Linked DNA regions of Homo sapiens: regions 2, 3, 4, 5 and 6 are each linked to region 1. Evidence: promoter capture Hi-C in 16 types of primary human blood cells and fetal thymus (Javierre and others, 2016). All regions are on one chromosome and are shown on one strand. Each heading gives the region's core, a stretch centred on a gene start or on the middle of the fragment in contact. The rest is flanking DNA. Distances are from core to core; before and after follow the strand shown. Region 1 holds the start of KLHL41 (kelch like family member 41). Region 2 overlaps UBR3 (ubiquitin protein ligase E3 component n-recognin 3). Region 3 overlaps UBR3 (ubiquitin protein ligase E3 component n-recognin 3). Region 4 overlaps UBR3 (ubiquitin protein ligase E3 component n-recognin 3). Region 5 has its middle 11 kb from the start of SSB. Region 6 overlaps SSB (small RNA binding exonuclease protection factor La).

Evidence for each region. Contacts are between HindIII fragments. The CHiCAGO score rates a contact against its expected background, and 5 or more counts as called.
Region 2: a fragment that was not itself captured here is called in contact with the fragment with the promoter of KLHL41 in region 1 in 1 of 17 cell types (non-activated CD4 T cells); the score reaches 5.8 in non-activated CD4 T cells.
Region 3: a fragment that was not itself captured here is called in contact with the fragment with the promoter of KLHL41 in region 1 in 3 of 17 cell types (fetal thymus, activated CD4 T cells and naive CD4 T cells); the score reaches 6.9 in fetal thymus.
Region 4: a fragment that was not itself captured here is called in contact with the fragment with the promoter of KLHL41 in region 1 in 4 of 17 cell types (total B cells, erythroblasts, total CD4 T cells and 1 more); the score reaches 8.0 in total B cells.
Region 5: a contact is called between a fragment that was not itself captured here and the fragment with the promoter of KLHL41 in region 1, in 1 of 17 cell types (erythroblasts). The highest score is 5.5, in erythroblasts.
Region 6: a fragment that was not itself captured here is called in contact with the fragment with the promoter of KLHL41 in region 1 in 1 of 17 cell types (endothelial precursors); the score reaches 5.2 in endothelial precursors.

The regions. Positions count from the first base shown.
Region 1 is chr2:169,507,829-169,511,441 of GRCh38, reverse strand. It overlaps KLHL41 (kelch like family member 41), which reads right to left and starts at 1,740. Exons shown (of 6, transcript NM_006063.3): 1 at 554-1,740. The coding sequence starts at 1,663. The HindIII fragment of the contact is 4,398 bases long and covers 1-1,951 here.
Region 2 is chr2:170,012,143-170,015,690 of GRCh38, reverse strand. UBR3 (ubiquitin protein ligase E3 component n-recognin 3) reads right to left here. Exons shown (of 39, transcript NM_172070.4): 30 at 325-410. Among named protein-coding and RNA genes, the nearest start is that of MYO3B, 160 kb to the left of the region's middle. RefSeq lists an enhancer at 1,036-2,594. The HindIII fragment of the contact is 1,569 bases long and covers 1,359-2,927 here.
Region 3 is chr2:169,881,361-169,884,715 of GRCh38, reverse strand. All of the region lies in intron 5 of UBR3 (ubiquitin protein ligase E3 component n-recognin 3), which reads right to left. Among named protein-coding and RNA genes, the nearest start is that of UBR3, 56 kb to the right of the region's middle. The HindIII fragment of the contact is 707 bases long and covers 950-1,656 here.
Region 4 is chr2:169,901,123-169,904,714 of GRCh38, reverse strand. All of the region lies in intron 8 of UBR3 (ubiquitin protein ligase E3 component n-recognin 3), which reads right to left. Among named protein-coding and RNA genes, the nearest start is that of UBR3, 75 kb to the right of the region's middle. The HindIII fragment of the contact is 3,598 bases long and covers 1-3,252 here.
Region 5 is chr2:169,786,480-169,789,728 of GRCh38, reverse strand. No RefSeq gene overlaps it. Among named protein-coding and RNA genes, the nearest start is that of SSB, 11 kb to the left of the region's middle. RefSeq lists an enhancer at 1-205. The HindIII fragment of the contact is 492 bases long and covers 1,703-2,194 here.
Region 6 is chr2:169,802,384-169,805,763 of GRCh38, reverse strand. SSB (small RNA binding exonuclease protection factor La) reads right to left here. Exons shown (of 12, transcript NM_003142.5): 3 at 187-290; 4 at 1-99. Among named protein-coding and RNA genes, the nearest start is that of SSB, 5.2 kb to the right of the region's middle. The HindIII fragment of the contact is 2,950 bases long and covers 181-3,130 here.

The DNA of each region.
Region 1 (3,613 bases), core at 491-2,990:
GGATAAGAACTTTGATTTAGGGAAACTATTTGGGGAAAGACATTAACTATTTTTAATAGGTAAGAGTATACAAGATTAAATTTAGTTTTTACAGCAGGGGGTGGTGGCTCACACCGGTAATCCCAGCACTTTGGGAAGCCAAACTGGGAGTATTGCTTGAGCCCAGGAGTTCGAGACCAGCCGGGGCAACATAGTGAGAGCCCATCTCTGCTAAGAAAAAATAAATTTAGTTTTTACTAAAATACTGGGCTTTGAGGGATTACAGTCACGATCATCTATAAACAAGGCATTTTTGGTAAAATAGTATAAAGAACATCTTAAGTCATTAAACATGAATTAGAACCTCATTATTCACCAAACTTTTTATTACACATTAACAAAGCAGTCAAATATTTTTCTGTCAACGCTCTATACAGCAAAAGTGCAAGGGACTGGAATAGGACATCAATTAGAGTAAAATGCAAGCAGCTTGAATAATTCACAAATTGGCTAACTGGATGGTGAGTAACAGCCTTCCCTTTAAGCAACTACATATACAAAAAGTCCTTCTTACCTGGAAGAAGTATGACTGTAGAGGTTGATCCTTATTTTCTTCATCCACATATAGTCCTCCTACCACATATATCTGATTTTGCTGGGTAACAATGCTGGAATGATTTCTGGGAATCTGCTCAGCCAGTGCAGTAAGGTAGCATTCATTTTCCGTGGGGTCATAAGCCACTGCTGCTGTGTCATTAACCAAGAGGATGAGGTCTTTTACAAACATTCCATGCCTGGGAATGTCATTCAGGTAACCAGGAAGTAAATCTTCATCACCAACATCACCATTCACCTCACCAGCCCCAGTCTTCGCGGCATTTTTGCTAGGTTCTGGGAGTTTGCCTGCGAAAGCATCTTTTAGAACTTTGATTTTTTTCTGGAGGTCTGGGTTGCTTTTAATTATATCATCTTTCTCAACATGATCCTTAAAATATTTTTCTGTCATAAGGCGAAAACGGATACAATCAAACACTTCACTAAGGTTTTTAACCCTGTTTTCCTTGTCTGTTCGCACCCATTTCATCACTGCCTCAAATACTGCTTCTTCTTTTTCTACATTTAGGCTGTCATTTGAAATGACTGAGATCAGTTCCTGTGGAGACAGTTGCATAAAGTCCTCTTCCTTACAAATCTGTACAAAGCGATCAGACACAAATTCACGGGCAGAAATGGCGAGTCTCGGGCAGTCAAGAAGAAGTCCTAATCTTAGGATGGCTAGACAGTTACCAGGAGCAAGTCTTTTCTGAAGATAAGAAACGCAGACAGTAAACACTGAGGGGATCTGAAAGCGGCTGGCCAATGCAAAAATATCTTGCACATTTCCGTCATTGAGATCAATACTGGCAGAGTACAGGTATTTGATGATTAAATCAAGTATAGCAGGATCCACATTGTCTAGCACTACCTCCTTTTTTTTCGCCTCATCAATTTCAGATAAAAAGTACTCACGGAAGTAAGGACTACAAGCTGACAAAATCAATCTGTGGCAAGGAAGACTTTTGTCACCTGCTTTTAGGGTGCAATCGATGAATTTTTTCTCATCCAGGAGATCTTTTAGACCATCCTGAAGAAGGGTGGATTGGTAAAGCCGCAGTTCCTCTGCAAGTTCCCGCTGGGAATCCATTCTGTGAGAAACCTGGGTAAGGAAGGGGACACTGAAGGCCTTAGCTCCTTGCAGCACACAGGTCTAGCTGTAAAAAGGCAGATCAGTGTGCTTTGCCCAGCTTGAAGCCTTTGCAATTTAATCCCACTAGCTAAATATAGATACCAACTCTAACAACGGGAATTTAGGAGAGCTGGCTTGGAAAGAAGAGTTGTTCTTGCAGCTGTTATAGATTGAAAGTAACAACTGGAACTTTTAATCACTAGGGAAACAGCTAAGAAACAAGACATTTAAGTGAAGTTGAAAGCTTAAAAATACATAACACATTAGAAGATATACTAATAAAGGCTACTACAAGAAAATGTTTATTGAATTAACAGAAAAATGAATCATAAAAATGAGTCACTCCTCTAAATATGTTCTAGTGTCAAGCTACTTGGCTCTCTGAATTAATGATGCAAAGGTCAAGAATATGAGATGTGTTCATTTGAATACTCATAAGCAAGATCTCATTTCCAATAATTGTTAACATACAAATTTTTACTTTCTACTCAGAACAGTGGGATATAGATATTTCTTTTAGAAGTAGTAAACTTAAAGATGTTTACTTCTGTACTAGTTTTACAAAACCTTTAATGTTGCCATGATAATTGAAAAAAGAAATGCAGAGGAATTGCTAATTTTCTAAAACATTCCAAATTATTCTTACATGGAAAAACTGTAATTAATATTGAATTAAATTATAAAATTATTTATTCATATCCTGCCTTGTCATACAAATGATCTAATGTGGCAAACGATAATAAGGTAAAATAAAAGCAAAAGGTTAAAAGGAATCACAGAGCCAGAAAAAATAATTAAAAGTCAATCTAGGGAACGAAAAAGTCCACACACATTCAAATAAGATCACAAAAGATAATCTGTAATTTTAAATATCAAAAATTATCATTCATTAAATAAAACGTGAAAAATAGAACAGATATAACCCCATGAGAACAATGTTATCACTAAACACAGCAAAATCAAGATGAACTCCTACAATGGTCATAGAGAACAGCCCCCCCTTTTTTTAAAGAGTATATAACTGGGGACATAACGTAGGCTGTTGATTATAATAGAATACCATATTAATTATGGAGGTAGAAGTAATGATTTGAAAGAAAATCGGTCCTTTGTTTATATATAGATGGTATAATATACTTCATTAAATACTTTCATTTATTTATTTATTTTTGAGACAGAGTCTCGCTCTGTCACCCAGGCTGGAGTACAATGGCGCAGTCTCGGCTCACTGCAACTTCTGCCTCCCGGGTTCAAGCAATTCTCTTGCCTCAGCCTCCCGAGTAGCTGGGATTACAGGCACCCGCCACCATGCCTGGCTAATTTTTGTATTTTTAGTAGAGACAGGGTTTCATCATGTTGGCCAGGCTGGTCTCGAACTGCTGACCTCGCGATCCGCCTGCCTCGGCCTCCCAAATTGCTGGGATTACACGTGTGAGCCACCGCACTGGGCCCATTAAATACTTTATTACACAGTCATATTGTCACATTATCTGAACTCAAGTAGGGCTGTAGAAATACTGTAATTTCAAAAGTTGGTATTTTTACACATACCCCCAAAAACAAATTCCATGAAGACAGGGATTGTGGGAGTGTCTGTTCTTTTCAAATGCTATAGCGTAGGGGTTTCGTGAGTGCTTTATAAGTATTTGTTGAATGAATGAATGCCCCAGATCAAGGAATTATGTATTTTTAAACTTCAAGGTCTCTATCCATGAGTAAAGGCCTTTTCTTTTATTTTACATCACAGTGAAGTCAATGGTACTGTCAGCTGCTAAAACAACAGCTGAAAGAAGAGCTCATTGACTCTTTTTCCATTTATAGATGCCACTAAAGGTTTTAACACACCAGAAAAAACTAACAGCTGCTTCCTTGTTTAAACAATAAATGACTCATTTCTCTCTACATGTA
Region 2 (3,548 bases), core at 894-3,393, 500 kb before region 1:
TATTTTCTTAATTCAATGTAAAAATTCTTTAAGAGAATTAAAGTTTAAGAACAATTTTTTATAGCTGAGAATCATACAGTGCTTTAATTTTGAAACCTCGTCACTTAGCATCACATTTATGTGCTAGGTAATCATAATCTAGAAAGAGCTAAATATCCATATGATTCTTCCAAGTACAAGATTAGCCATTTAAAGTATATATCACTATCTAAATAGATCATATATAACAGACAAAATTTGAAATATACCAAAATGTCACTTTTCCTGTCAATGCTTCCAAAAATGACAGAATTTTTTTTAAATTTAGCAGTATTTAGTACTTACTTAAACAAGACCTTTTGCCAGCTGTGCTTGCACCACCTGAACACAAATTGCCTCCTCGATGAATCAATTCAAGTTCTAAATTGGTTCTGTAAGTAAAACATTATATCTCAGTCATTAAACTGAAGATTCTTTATTAATCTGCTTTATTGACATGTCTGAATCAACCTAAAAAATAAAGTTCTTCAACTTTATTTTTTGCAAAAGCAGTTTTTATGTTGTATCAGTAATAATCATATTTATCTGATATTTAGAAATACAAAGGGAACAATTTATCCATCCTTACTTATATGTTCATATTTACACCTGCAAAAAATTGCACACATCATGGTGTAATTGTTGCAAAGTCCCAACTCTTGGCACATACTAAAAACTAGGCCTTAAGAAAAAAAAAAAAACTGCAACATATTTCATAAACCTGCATATGAATATGAAGAAAGAATTTTTACTCCAACGTCAGCCACTGTGTAGGTGGTTATTGCCATATAAAACACAAAGGCATACCAATTTTTCTATCAGAGAAATGGTTATCATTCATTGGAGGTTAGATGGTATCTGGAAATCAATATTAAGAAACAAAATCACTAATATAGAAATGGCTATGAACAACACATATAATTTAACAGCAGTCTCTCTTACGGACTTCTAAAACTAGTTTCATTAAAATACACTGTGTAACTACTGATATGGCTAACCATCAATACTGTTCATACAGACCTGAAATTGCAAGGTATTTAGCAATTATTAGCTTACAAAATAGCAATATTTAATAAATCAACATTTCAAAAATCAAACTAATGCAGAATCTAAGGATTTACCCAAAAACAGTAACAGTAAAAGAACCAATTAATTATGCCAAAATAAATGACAACTCTGAGAAATAATTTAAATTGTATTTTTCTTCAACAGTATGAATACACTTAGACATACCTTTATTTTCTACAACCAAAACTGACCCTAATATGCATTTGACCCTAATAGTGAGATACTGTCTCCCACTTAAAAAAAAAAAAAAGAAAAAAAAACAGTTTCAAGCTTACTCTTTGCAAGTGAATTCATGAAAGACTATTATCCTATTTTATTTAAAACAAAACATTTTGCACTGATTTGGCTGAATTTTGAACATGGACTTTTTTGGAGATTATATTTCCATGTATTTACTTATAAATGCAAATTGTTAAAGAATATTAATATTCCTAAGTCTGTACATTTGCCACCCATTTCTAAAGGAATGCTTTAATCCTCTCTACTCAGGGTGGGAGAAAAAGCAATTTAACACCGATAACGTTCCAGCTCAGAGCTCCATCTGGTTGCTGCTGATAAGGGCATCTGTGTGACAAGGGAATTTTCCACCCTTCAGGCGATTTGCATTGCTCACTGAACTTCTAAAAACCTACCAGCAAGGAAGCAGGGACAAGGATTTCATACTAGTGGACAGAAAGCGAGCGGAGACCAGCATGTGTTCCTTCATCAAGGGAATATAAATGAGATCAATACATTTTGTTTTCACAAATCTTCTGTTGCCTAATCTGTAGAAAAAAATTAATGGCTATATTCTCTTATAAAAACTAAGATTTCCTAGATAGTACTTTTAAGAGAGCTAACCAGAAACACAAACAATACTTACAAATGAATGTCAAAACCAGAATGTCAACATTTCACCATATTTGCAAAAATATTTATTAAAATATAAATATAAGAACAATTCTGTTTTCTCAATCCCCAAATATAACGGATGACAAACATATTACTAAGAATTTCATTGTAAAGAATTCTCGAAAAAAACTAGTAAAATCTAATTAATTATTCCAGATTATGACTGGAAGATCTCCTATGCAATATTCTTTCTGAATTAAAAATCAAAAACTACCTATCCAAAGGATTAATGTGTAATAATATCTAGGATTTTACATTTCTTAAAAATTTTTTTTGAGAGATGAAGTCTTGCTGTGTTGCCCAGGTTGCACTTGAACTCCTGTGCTCAAGCAATCCTCCTGCCTCAGCCTCCCAAGTATCCAGGAATAGGCGCACACCACTGTATCCAGCAATATCTAGGATTTTAAAAATCAATATGGCTCTAAATACCAACTTTTCTTTGTTTCATATATGTCAAAATTGGTCCTTTGAGACATGCTAAAGAACACACAAATGGGTCATATGTCCCATGTCCGACTGCTGAAAATCACACAGCAATATTATGTTTCTTTCCTCCTCAATGAATGATGCAAAAATAAAGATATGCTGGGAGTGGAAGTTTTCCGAGCTTTTTGCTGTCAAAGAAAAGCAGACTCTTTTCTATATTTTCTAACACAAATACATTCAAATTAGTTTGGAAGAAAAAAAAGAGGCGAAAATCTCTACATTTGAAAGAATGATGAGAAAGACTGTTTAAAGCCTACCCTAGTGGCCACCTAGATGTGCACATTAAAAACCCCTCTAACTATGCTCCAGCTTCTTTTTGCATGACCAAAGTATGCTGTCCTCTCAATCCCCCCATTCAACACTAACTTCTATTTTAGACTATAATTTGAAAAGCAAACGTGTGTACACACACTACACACCCCACATTCTCAAACACACGTTGGTTTGGTGAAAAGGGCAAAGCTTCTGGAAAGAGATCTAGGTTCAAGGCCTGAGTCTACCACTCAGTAGTTGAGCAAGTTACTCAATTTCTCAGGGGGAAAAAAAAAAAAAAACCAGTATCTTCATCCATACCACAGCCTATATTATACAAGAGGCAATTCAACTTTTAACTTCTCCAGGAAGCTTTCCTGGGACAGAAAGAAGGACTTACACATATTTTATATTTCAATTTGCTCATCTTCCCTTTAGAAGTTCTACAGTGCTTTCTCTATATGATATTTTTAAAAACAAATTATATTCTGTTATATAGATTGATGTTATATTAGTTCCATCTCTCCAACTAAACTGTAAATTCATGGAGAACAGGGACTATTTCAAATATAGCTTCTAAATCCCCAGGGTACCTGATAAGATGCTTAAAAAGAAAAAAAATGGGAACTGACAACATCTTTCTTTTGATATGTAACCAATTATAAGATTCTCTTTAGCCCTTGCAGTTTATTTTCTTTCTTTTCCTAACTCTTCCATTCCCTTAAACCCAGTATTGACCCCACCAAGCCCCAAAAAAGGATTGTTTTAGGAAAGAATTTTTTGTTTTTTTAAAAAGATTCATAATTTGGTATTTAGCAAGCGTCCCTTTTATT
Region 3 (3,355 bases), core at 54-2,553, 370 kb before region 1:
GCTTATGATGCCTAGCCACCAACAGAATTTTTATTCCATGTAGGCCATTAGTCCTAATAAAATAATGTTTTCCACTAATAAACAAAAAACAAACCAGATTAAAACAGGATACACAACCCCAAAAAGAGACTAGCGGAAGAGTCACAGTAGTTTCATAGCCTCATTAGTAATTAAATTCAAAAATATATTTTGTTCTTTAACCTACAATGAATACTAATAAAATTTCAGTATATTTTCTTCTGCTTTACAAAGTTAAAAGTCAACTCTTGGCTGGGAGCCATGGCTCACGCCTGTAAACCCAGCAGTTTGGGAGGCCAGGGCAGATTACGAGGTCAGGAGATCAAGACCATCCTGGCTAACACGGAAAAACCCCGTCTCTACTAAAAATACAAAAAATTAGCCGGGTGTGGTGGCGGGTGCCTGTAGTCCCAGCTACTCGGGAGGCTGAGGCAGAATGGCGTGAACCTGGGAGGCAGAACTTGCAGTGAGCCAAGATCACGCCACTGTACTCCAGCCTGGGCGACAGTGCAAGACTCCGTCTCAAAAAAAAAAAAAAAAAGTCAGCTCTCCAAAATACCTTACAGGCTGGGCACGGTGGCTCACGCCTCTAATCCCAGAACTTTGGGAGGCCAAGGTGGGTGAATCACCTGAGGTCAGGAGTTCAAGACCAGCCTGTCCAACATGGCAAAACCCCATCTCTACTAAAAATACAAAAATTAGCTGGGTGTGGTGGCACGCGCCTGTAGTCACAGCTAGTCGGGAGGCTGAGACGGGAGAATCACTTGAACCTGGGAAGCAGAGGTTCAGTGAGCCAAGATCACACCACTACACTCCAGCCTGGGCAAAAGAGTAAGACTCTGTCTCAAAATAAATAAAATAACCTTATAATCTAAATATAAGTTTTTATTCTCTTGATGTACAATAGTAACTACTATACTTAAGGAAAGCTTTGATTTTCATTAAAACTCTGTAATAGCCATTACTGGCTAAAATGGCATTACTTTATCAGTTGTATTTTTTCCCAAGAGATAGTGCCACTAAAATAGATAGAAAATTTATAAGAAATTATTGGTACATTATTTAGCTATTATCACTACCCACTATTGGATTATCAACTGAATCCAGGGAAAAGAATGACTAATGTCATATCCTGGTTGTGGAAGTTTTAAAACATGTTTACAAATTCTCTGACATTCTTCCCATCAAGAGGTGGGATCTATATCACCTCCCACTGAATCTGGACATACTTTCGCAACTCGTTTATAACAAAAAGGATGAAGTGACACCACATACCTTCCAAGACTAGCTCAGAAAAGGCTCTACAGCTTCTACTCTTGGGCTGTTGGCCTGGGAGAAGTAAGTCACTACTATGTAAGATGTCCAACTTGAGACCACCATGCTGGAGAAACCACATGTCGTCATACTGATCAACAACCAGCTGAGTTCTCGGATGGTCAGCATCAACTATCAGCCCTATGAGTGAGCCATCTTAGATCTCCGTCTCAGTGTGAAGCCCTCAGATGACTATGGCTGCAGCCAACAACTAACTGCAACCACATATGATGACCAAAGTAAGAACTGCCCAGATGCCATTCTCACGTTCCTAAGTCATAAAATTGTGAGCAAAATAAAATGGTAATTTTAAGACATAAAGCTTTGGGCAAATTTGCTGCATAGCAACAGTAATGACAATCATGGTTTATCCACTTTATAGAAAGAACACTTAGACCAGCAGATAGAAGAACTAGTGCCCAATTTCAACTCTACCACTAACTAGACGGCATTCACTAGCCTGAGTGAATCAGTTAATTCTATGGAATTCAGTTTTTTCATCCATAAATAAGAAAGACAAGATGAATTATATAGTCCCTTTTAGCTCAAGCAGTCATAATTTTTATAACCCTTGAATTGCTTGACACTAATTTTCATTTCGTTTTTGTTGTATCACATGACTTTTCTTTTTTTTTTTCTTTTTTTTGAGATGGAGTCTCACTCTGTCACCCAGGCTGAAGTGCAGTGGTGCAATCTCAGCTCTGCAACTTCTGCCTCCAGGTTCAAGGGGTTCTCCTGTCTCAGTGCCCTGAGTAGCTGGGATTACATGCATGTGCCAGCATGTTCAGCTAATTTTTGTATTTTCAGTAGAGATGGGGTTTCACAATGTTGGCCAGGCTGGTGTCAAACTCCTGACTTCAGGTGATCTGCCCGCCTCGGCCTCCCAAAATGCTGGGATTACAGTTATGGGCCACCACACCCAGCTGACTTTTCTAACTCAAGACTTGACAAGTTTAAAACCATAAAGCAAACACCTTATTTTATATATATATATTTTTATATATAATATATATTTACATATATAATATATATTTACATATATATTATATAATACATATATAATATATAAATATATAATATACATAAATATACAATATATAAATATATGATATACAAATATATATAAATATATATACATATACAATATAAATATATGTATATAATATACATATATAAATGTGTATATTATTTATTACACATGCATATTACATATAAATATGATAAATATATATACATATATAATATAAATATATGTATATAATATACATATATAATATAAATATATATGTGTATATATACATACATATATAATTATATTATATGTGTATATATAATATACATATAAATATGCATGTATAATATATAATACATATTATATATTATATAAATATACATATACATATATAATATAATTACATATGTATGTATACATACATATGTAATTATATTATATGTATACATGTATACATATACATATACCTATATGTATACATGTACACATATACCTATATGTATACATATACACATATACGTATATGTATACATGTATACATACATATATAATTATATGTATATTATAACATAAATATAAATATACATATATATTATATTATATATAATTTATTAATATATAATATATATTATATAATATATAATATAAATATACATATACATATATAATTATATATGTATATATGTGTATATATATATATAAAGTATCACTGCACTCTAGCCTGAGAGAGCAAGACCCTATCTCAAAAAAAAAAAAAAGAAACATACGGTAGATACCTCTGGCTAAACAACTCTACTTCAAATTCTTAAGTTTTCAAATGCCTAAATGACCCTATTTTTATCCCTTTGGAAAATATGATCAATATATAAACTATAAAAAGTTTAGCTTTCTGGGGCTGGGCACGGTGGCTCATACCTATAATCCCAGCACTTTGGGAGGCCAAGGTGGGCGGATCACCTGAGGTCAGGAGTTCAACACCAGCCTGACCAATATGGAGAAACCCCATCTTTA
Region 4 (3,592 bases), core at 204-2,703, 390 kb before region 1:
ATTTCATCTTATCAACCAAATCTGTATGATTTCAAGAGATGTACATTTAATTGCTTTCTTCTATGCAAAAAATACATCAATACAATCTTTAGCAAACAATATTTCAAAGATAAAAAACACACATTTAAAAAAAAGAAACACACACACACACCAACTTCTTAAGCCTTGAAAAAAAAATCCTCAAAGTTTAAATACATCATTGGGGGTGGTGGGAGGATAGGCTTGTACGAAATCTTTATCATTAAAAATTATTAGTATATATGCATTCACTCTCTTTAACCTATTCCAACTTCACTGACTCACTGGACTAGGAAGTTTCCATTCCCACTGTAAAACATATTAATACCCATAATACATGGAATGCTCAAGGCTCATAGCTCATTCCCTGTACACAGGCTGGGGCGTATGGTTACCTAGAGTCAATTTTTGTTTCTATTCATGCTAATTGTTCTTTTTATCATAATTACACAATTTAGATCAAAAGTATATGAACTAATGACATATGAAAGCACAGAGAGGTATTACAGAAATTGAATCATATGCTTTTGAGAGACAATAAAATAAAAACAAGTGCCAGGAAAAAAAGCTAAAAAACCTTGGGACAGAAAAATCATAAAAGCCTAAGTATATTTTACACTCAGATTGCTTTATATTCTAACTCTATTTTAAAGAGATTAAAATTGGATCCACAGATGATGCTTTATAGATGTGCTATTTATAAAAAAGATGAGCGAGAACTCCAGTCAAGGAAATCATATCCTGAAAATACTTTGCCCAAAGTTAAAAGCCTGGAGAATGAACACACAGTTCTGTGTTTTAAGTTAAAATACAATGTTTAAGGTATATATATATTTTTTCAAAGATGGGGGTCTCACTATGTTGCCCACGCTGGACTCAAACTCCTGGGCTCAAGCAGTCTTCCCACCTCAGCCTCCTCAGTAGCTGGGATTACAAGTATGTGCCACCACACCCGGCTCATATTTTTTAAATGATTCCTCACTTTAACCAACTTATTCAACTACCTATCTACCTGTCATACTCATCAGTCAGGAGGGCCTCTACTGCACTTTTTAATTTCCACACATTAAACTTAGGTTTCAGTCCACAGAATTATTTTACCAAATATTAAATAAGTTTAACAATATCTAAGAACAGGGTCCACTGAAGTTAAGTACACTCTCTTTCAGTACTTCTCAATGGACGAGAGAGGGTCTAACTCAATGAGGAAGTAAGGACTAGGGGCTTTTTACAAATTATTTATACTAACCCCTGGCCATGACTGACAACTACTGTTCCACTTCTGAGCTAGTGAGCCATTGATATTGATGCAACAGTGCTAAGGAATGTTGGGATTTTTTTTAAGTTAAAAATTGAGAATCACTGTTCTATATAATTGAAACCAGAGGATGAATAAGCAGAATATAATTAATCAAACTCACTATTTTCATGACACTGCTTAAATACTACTGTTCTTGTAAAAAACGCCTTGGAATCATTAATGAAATAAAATGATTAGGACTTCTATTTTTACTCAAACTGGTACTTTCCTCATTACAGATATAAAGAGCAATGATTCAGTGTAAAATTAAATTCACTCATCAACAAATATTTATTGAGCACCTACTAAGGGTCAAGTTTTCAACTAATCTCTGAGAATAAAGTGATAAATAAATCAAGATTTAGATGATCTCTGTCTTCATGGAGATTAACATCTAAGAAGGCAGAATGTGATAAGGGCTGCAATGGGAAAAGTAGAGGGACTCATAAGAACAAATAAAGCGAGACTACAATTCAAGAAAAGACTTGGCTGGCCATGGTGGCTCACGCCTGTAATCCCAGCACTTTGGGAGGCCAAAATGGGCGAATCACCTGAAGTCAGGAGTTCGAGACCAGCCTCGCCAACATGGTAAAACCCCCACCTCTACTAAAAACACAAAGTTAGCTGGGCGTGGTGGCAGGCACCTGTAATCCCAACTACTCAGGAGGCTGAGGCAGGAGAATCACTTGAACCCGGGAGGCGGAGGTTGCAGTGAGCCGAGATTGTGCCACTGCACTCCAGCCTAAGTGACAGAGCAAGGCTCCATCTCAAAAAAAAAAAAAAGACTCTCCTGAGGAAGTGAAGTTTAAACTGAGGCCTATAAAATAAAGCAGGAATTAGGATTAACCAGATAAAACTAGTGATGGTGGAGCAGATGGTGCTATACGCGGAAGGAGCAGTACCTAAGAAAAGGTTAGAATCACTTGAAGAAAGAATACAGAGGATGCATGGTACAAATGAGGCTACAGGGTCTTATAAACCAGCGTCAGGACTTTAGAGTTCACATGAAGAGAATGGAAAGCCACTAGGGGGTTTTAAGAGAGAGAACATTATAAGAAGTGTAATGTAAAAAGTGACTGAAGGAGAGTGACAACAACTAGAGATAAGAGGCTTAGAGATGGCCATGGTTTGAACTATGGTGGTGGCAAAAAGATGCAGTGATGAAGAGGCTATGTAAAGATATTCAGAAGATTTGAAGGACAGAGTTGGTAATGTGTGCTATATCTGCAAGGAATAAAAAGAAGTCAAAGACAACTCCTAGGTTTTTAGGCTGCACAGCTGTTTAGATAGTTAGACAGTGGAATCAAAACACACATTCATGTGCTCATGTACATACACACACACACAAGATAATGTAAAAGCAGCCAGATTAATGGAGCAATAATGAGTCTTCGCTATGGACACTGTGTGTTTGAGGTGTTTATAGACATCCAAACAATATAGTTCAATAAGTAGTTTGATATGCAGGGAGGAAAGGCAGTCTGGGATTATGAGCATCTACAGACATTCCTATGTCATACAACACATGGTTTTAGATTCCACTTTACAAAGACTGTTTCAAAAGATAAATTCTAAAATTTCTGGGACATGAAAAATTATGAGCTATGTTTGGAACCACAAAGCATATGGTATAAAATTGAATATAAAAAAGTAAAAGTAGAAGGTAGGAATCACATACTACTATAAGGCTTTTTCCCTTTAGTCTTCAGCTATCGCTGTGGCCAAATTCTCATTGTATCAGCTCCTGTATTTATTAAAAGTATAGATAAAATTTTAAAATATCATCTAACAACAATTCAAGACAAGGCTAGATAGAGGCTGCTAAAAAATAAAAAGAAAGTACAGAGATCCTGTTGTAATATCCGTGGCTAGTTATGGGTAGTTCAGTACAGCTAAGGTTTATTCTAATACTCAGTGTAAAAATGGGAAAAGCTTATGATACTTTTAGAAAAGCAGTAAATATATATCATGATATCTTATGCTACTACTGAAAGAGGAAAAAATAGTATGGCAAAGTTTGAAGGCTTCCAAAGATAGTTTTAGAACTTGGCTGGAAATAATGTAATTTACTGCTAAAAAAAAATTATATTTAAAGATCTTACCAATCTTTATTTCAGCTTGTTGAAAATTCAATTTGTATAAGAATTTCCAGAAAAGACTAACTGCATTAGAAGCATATGTAAAAAGCAACTGATACCATATAATATGATTTCAGAAAAATATGGGAAAAGTGTGAAAAGCAGAGACACTAGGACAAAGTGCCAAGAAACACCA
Region 5 (3,249 bases), core at 699-3,198, 280 kb before region 1:
GGCAACATAGTGAGACCCAGACCTTGAATCTACAAAAAATAATTTAAAAATTAGCCAGATGTGTCTCTTAAAAAAAAAAAGTGTGTGTTTTTAATTAATTTTTACCAATTTTATCAATTAGGATTTTTATAAATTAGGATGCTTCCAATTTTATCAATTAGGATTACCAATTTTATCAATTCTTCCAATTTTATCAATTAGGATTCTTTATATGAATCTGGATATGAAGGTTACATCAGATGTAGGAATTGTGGATTTCTTCCCCCCAGTCTACGGCTTTCTTTTTCACTCTCCTATTGGTATCTTTGGATAATTAGTGCTTTTTATGTTGCATTTAAAAAATCATTGCCTACTCCAAATGTTCAGAGATATTCTCCCCTAATTTCTTTTAGAATCTGTATTGTTTTATTTTCACATTTAGTTGTATGATTCATGTTAAATTAATTTTGGGGCATAATATAAGGCAGATGGCAAAGTTCCTTCTTTTTCTATATGGATGAACAATAATTGCTCCAGCAAAATTTGTTGAAAAGATTGTTACCACGTCTAATTCTAATTCTAGAATGGTTATCCAAATTTTAAAAAATAGCTTTTTTTTTTTTTTTGAAACAAGGTCTAGCTCTGTTGCCCAGGTTGGAGTGCAGTGGTATGATCATGGCTTCCTGCAGCCTTGAACTCCTGGGCTCAGGTGATCCTCCCATCTTAGTTAGCCTCCAGAGTAGCTGGGACTACAAGGCTCATGCTACCACACATACCCAGATAATTTTTAAATTCTTTTGTAGAGACAGAGTCTCACTGTATTGCTCAGGCTGGTCATGAACTCCTGGCCTCAAGCAATCCTCCCACCTTGGTCTTCCAAAGTGCTGGGATTACAGGTGTGAGCTACTGTGCCCTGCCTAGAATGAGATTTTTTTAAAGAAATGAAAATAGCCACATAAAAAATCCAGGTACTAAGCAGATAGAAGATAATTCTCCTTTGATCATATCCACCTTAGGGGTAAGACTATGCTGATCCCTTGAAAATAAAGACAGTAATTAAAAATGATTTTAGAGGAAGTTAAATGTACAGTGAAGTTACTGCCTACACAAGGTTGATGTTACAAACTGTATCAGAGTCTCAGCAAGATTTTTTTTTTTTTTGAGATGGGGTCTCAAACTCTTGGGCTCTATGGATCCTCCCTCCTCAGCCTCCTGACTAGCTGGGATTACAGGTATGTGCTACCATGATCGTCTGGCAGCAGGAAAATGTAATAAACTACTTTTTACAAAGGTGTGGGAAGGGCATAAGTAAATTCTGAGGGATACTGTGGTACCCCAAAGTTAGTAATATTGAGGGCTCCATTACCATCCCAAGGGGAGGGTGGCGGAGCGAAAGGAGGAGCTAGTCACTGGTGAGAAAGACGACTGTACGGAGAGGTCCCTGAGGATGCATCCAAGCCATGCCAACCCTGCAGGAATGGAGCCAGGGGAATGAAGGCTGGAGTGAATGCCCCCCTCCCCCACTCTGTTGTTAGTGCTCTCCTCTGCGTAGATCAGCCTCCTGGTAGAGAAGGAGCTGGTGGAGAATGTATCTGGAGGAGAAAAAGAAGATCTAGCACACAAAACACAGGAAAACACTTAGTCCAAAAAGAGGAAGAGTGGATGTGTGTTACGTACTCAAGATCAGAGAAGGGTTTGCAGTGAAGCCAACAAAGTTTAAGCTTCAGGACCCCTCCATTATATTGGCCCTTTCCAAGGACCTGGGAGGGATCCTAATAATGTGTTCATAAGGTCATATGGTTTTGTTAAATTTGTAAAAGATATTTTAACCAAAATCATCAAACAACTGTTGTTCTTCCATTTCAAATCTCCCTCCATTCCACTTCCCCAGTGTTCAATGGTGCTGAAGTGACACAAGTATTTTGAGTTTCTGTCTAAAAAGAAGTTGAATTGAGAATAAACCACTATAAATGTAATTTGAGCAGGCATTTTTAAACATTTTAATAAGATGTGAAGAAATTACAGTTCCTAGTTTAAGAACTGAAAAAAACAGATAAAATTAATAGAATATGAAGCTAAAGTCATAAACATGAATGACAAAATCAGTGATTATTCTGTATTCAAGAAGCAAATTATAAGAGAGAAGTTTTCAAATCATACCAATATCAGTGATTCATTAAGAATAAATAAATTTCAAAAAAGAAATGAATAAGCTTCTTGGATAGTGTATAATCCAAATAACAAAGTGGAGCAATTCATAAGAATATATTGGAAAAAATTAAAATTTTTTATTATTTGAAAATAATGACCTCTCCCTCTCCCTCTCCCTCTCCCTCTCCCTCTCCCCCTCCCCTCCCCCTCCCCCTCCCCCTCCCCCTCCCCCTCCCTCTCCCTCTCCCCACGGTCTCCCTCTCATGCGGAGCCGAAGCTGGACTGTACTGCTGCCATCTCGGCTCACTGCAACCTCCCTGCCTGATTCTCCTGCCTCAGCCTGCCGAGTGCCTGCGATTGCAGGCACGCGCCGCCACGCCTGACTGGTTTTGGTGGAGACGGGGTTTCGCTGTGTTGGCCGGGCCGGTCTCCAGCCCCTAACCGCGAGTGATCCGCCAACCTCGGCCTCCCGAGGTGCCGGGATTGCAGACGGAGTCTCGTTCACTCAGTGCTCAATGGTGCCCAGGCTGGAGTGCAGTGGCGTGATCTCGGCTCACTACAACCTCCACCTCCCAGCCACCTGCCTTGGCCTCCCAAAGTGCCGAGATTGCAGCCTCTGCCCGGCCGCCACCCCGTCTGGGAAGTGAGGAGTGTCTCTGCCTGGCCGCCCATCGTCTGGGATGTGAGGAGCCCCTCTGCCCAGCCGCCCAGTCTGGGAAGTGAGCAGCGTCTCCGCCCGGCCGCCATCCCATCTAGGAAGTGAGGAGCGCCTCTTCCCAGCCGCCATCACATCTAGGAAGTGAGGAGCGTCTCTGCCCGGCCGCCCATCGTCTGAGATGTGGGGAGCGCCTCTGCCCCACCGCCCCATCTGGGATGTGAGGAGCGCCTCTGCCCGGCCGAGACCCCGTCTGGGAGGTGAGGAGCGTCTCTGCCCGGCCGCCCCGTCTGAGAAGTGAGGAGACCCTCTGCCTGGCAACCACCCCGTCTGAGAAGTGAGGAGCCCCTTCGCCCGGCAGCTGCCCCGTCTGAGAAGTGAGGAGCCTCTCCGCCCAGCAGCCACCCCATCTGGGAAGTGAGGAGCGTCTCCGCCCGGCAGCCACCCCGTCCGGGAGGGAGGTG
Region 6 (3,380 bases), core at 406-2,905, 290 kb before region 1:
CTGATTTTAGTTTTATCTTCACTGATTTCCATGAGTTCTGCCTTGGATTTGCTCAATGCTTCCACAATTACATTAAAGTCTGTTGTTAGACGGTTCAACCTGAAGAGTACATATAAAAACATAAGACTCAGCAGTAGCACTCATTGTAAACAGAAAACCTAAAGATTATTTTTAAAAGCTTGTTACCTGTTGAATTTTATCATTATCTCCAAAGGTACCCAGCCTTCATCCAGTTTTATCTGTTCCTTTAGAAACTTGTCCCGTGGCAAATTGAAGTCGCCAAAATAATACTGTGAGATAATTACAATGTATTTCAGAACACTGTATAATATGGACTCCAATCCTGACATTACTCTACAGTACCAAGTTCTGTTATTTAAAAATACATAAGTTACAAAAGGCAAAACACTTTCCCCAAATATACAATAATGTTTACAAATTAGCAAAAAGATAAAACTAAAATGTCAATTACTAAAATAGTGTAACAGATGTGTCAATAGACTAGAAAACCTTAAAGAAGAATATATTTAAAGATTATATGAAAAGGCTCTTGCAAATCAGTGTGGAAAGAACAGATGGTTAAATAAAAAGAACTGGAAGAAATTGGTTAATCACTCAATTCTTATTTTTTTTTGAGACAGAGTCTTACTCTGTCGCTCAGGCTGGAGTGCAGTGGCATGAACTCAGCTTGCCGCAACCTCCGCTTCCCAGGTTCAAGTGATTCTCCTGCCTCAGCCTCCTGAGTAGCTGGGATTACAGGCATGTACCACCACGCCCAGCGAATTTTTGTTATTTTTAGTAGAGACAGGGTTTTACCATGTTGGCCTTGAACTCCTGATCTCAAGCGATCTGCCCACCTCGGCCTCCCAAAGTGCTGGGATTGCAGGCATGAGCCACCACACCTGCCCTTCTAATTTTTTAAAATTAAAAAATAAGGGACGGGGCCAGGCACGGTGCCGCACGCCTGTAATCCCTGCACTTTGGGAGGTCAAGAGATTGAGACCACCCTGGCCGACATGGTCAAACCCCGTCTCTACTAAAAATACAAAAATTAGCTGCACATAGTGGCACACACCTGTAGTCCCAGCTACTCAGGGGGCTGGGGCAGAAGAATCATTTGAAACCGGGAGGCAGAGGCTGCAGTGAGCCAAGATTGTGCCACTGCATTCCAGCCTGACAAAAGAGTGAGACTCCATCTCAAAAAAGGGGGTGGGGGGCCAGGAGTGGTGGTTCATGCCTAATCCCAGCACTTTAGGAGGCTGAGGTGGGTGCATTGCTTGAGTCTAGGAGTTCAAGACCAGCCTGGGCAACATGGCAAGACCCCAGCTCTCCAAAAAATAAATAAATAAATAAAATAAATAAGAAATAGAGGTACGTGCCTCTAGTCCCAGCTCAGGAAGCTGAAGTGGGAGGATTGCTTAAGCCTGGCAGGTTGAAGCTGCAGTGAGGCATAATTGTGCCACTGTACTCCAGCCTGGGCAACAAAGTAAGACGCTGCCTCAAAAAAAAAAAAAAAAAAAAAAGTTAAAGTAAATGTTTCTCAAATTTAAGCATAGAGGAACTCTCAATATACAAGCCAAGGAAAAACCCAAGTATGACTATTTGGAATGCCAGAAGTAACATAAAAAGTAAAAGACAAACAAATTTTGTCAAGAATTCTTACAAACAAAGAAGAAGGGTAAAAAGAGAACACCCTAATAGAAAACAGTTAAAGGATATTTTATTGGCCTCGCACGGTGGCCCAAGCCCATAATCCCAGCACTTTGGGAGGCTGAGGCGGGTCAATTTCTTGAGGCCAGAAGTTCGACAACAGACTGGCCAAAGTGGTGAAACCCTGACTCTACTAAAAATACAAAAATTAGCCACACATGGTGGTGCACGCCTGTAATCCCAACTACTCGGATGGCTGAGGCACAAGACTAGCTTGAACCCGGGAGGTGGAGGTTGCAGTGAGCTGAGATCACCGCCACTGTACTCCAGCCTGAGAGGAGAGCAATACTGTCTCTCTGTCTTAAAAAAAAAAAAGACACTATTTTTCAGGGATCGGGTCTTGCTTTGTTGCCCAGACTGGAATGCAGTGGTGCAACCACAGCTCACTGCAGCCTGAAACTCCCGGGCTCAATTGATCTTCCTCCTCAGCCTTCCAAGTAACTAGGACGACAAGCACATGCCACCATGCCCAGCTAATGATTTTTTTAAAAATTATAAAAAATAGGCCAAGCGCAATAGCTCATGCCTGTAATCCCAGCACTTTGGGTGGCCGAAGCAGGTGGATCACCCGAGGTCAGGAGTTCGAAACCAGCCTGACCAACATGGTGAAACCCCGTCTCCACTAAAAATACAAAAATTAGCCGGGCATGGTGGTGTGCACCTATAATCCTAGCTACTTGGGAAGCTGAGGAACCTGGAAGGTGGAGGTTGTGGTGAGCCAAGATCACGCCACTGCACTCTGCACTCCAGCCTGGGAGACAAGAGTGAGACTCCATCACAAAAAATAAATAAATAAATAATGTACTGTAAACTAAAAAAAAAATCCAACCTCATTTCATTGTTAATCAAAGAAATACAATTTAAAGCAACGAGACAGCATTTTTCACCTAACAAACTGGCTAAGATTAGAAAGAAAACCAAGACTACCTAGTATTGACTTGAACACAGAGAACTAGCCATTCAGGTAGATGTAAACTGACAATTATCAGTGTTTTTTAAATGTGCATAATCCTTGAGCCAGTATGGCTCCTTCTAAGAATTTTCCTTGAAGAAATCAATAAACATGTTTACTAAGATTTATATATAAGAATATTTGTCAAAGAATGATTACAGCTAAAAAAATTAGAAACATCCTTCATATTAAAGAGGAGAATGAAAAGATTATTGATTACAAAACTTTTCTCCACAAAAATGCATCCTATATTTAGCGGGGGAAAGGGAAGGAAATAAAATTGTTAGAAATGTACCACTCTGGTGGGGGATGTTTTAAAAGGTGAAGGCACTATGCTTGTGTGGAGGCAGGGGATATATGGAAAATCTCTGTACCTTCTGCTCAATTTTGCTGTAAACCTAGAACTGTTGTAAAATATAAGGTCCACTAAAAAAATTAGTATGAGCATGAAGCAAAGTGTCAAAAGCTTTTAACCTTGATAACCTCAGAAGAGTAGGATTTGAGAGTTAGCAGGTTGTGGGAGAGATACAACCTTTTCTATATACATCTTAGTATTGTTCTAAGTATTAAACACAGAATGAATAATTTCTAATTTTTCTCCTCATAGTCATAAAGAAATTAATACCAAAAAAAGGAACATGAGACATTTTAAATGCAGAGACGTGCAGCTTAAAAAAAAAAAAAAAGCAGTTCTGAGAATTGCAGAAAAACCCCACAC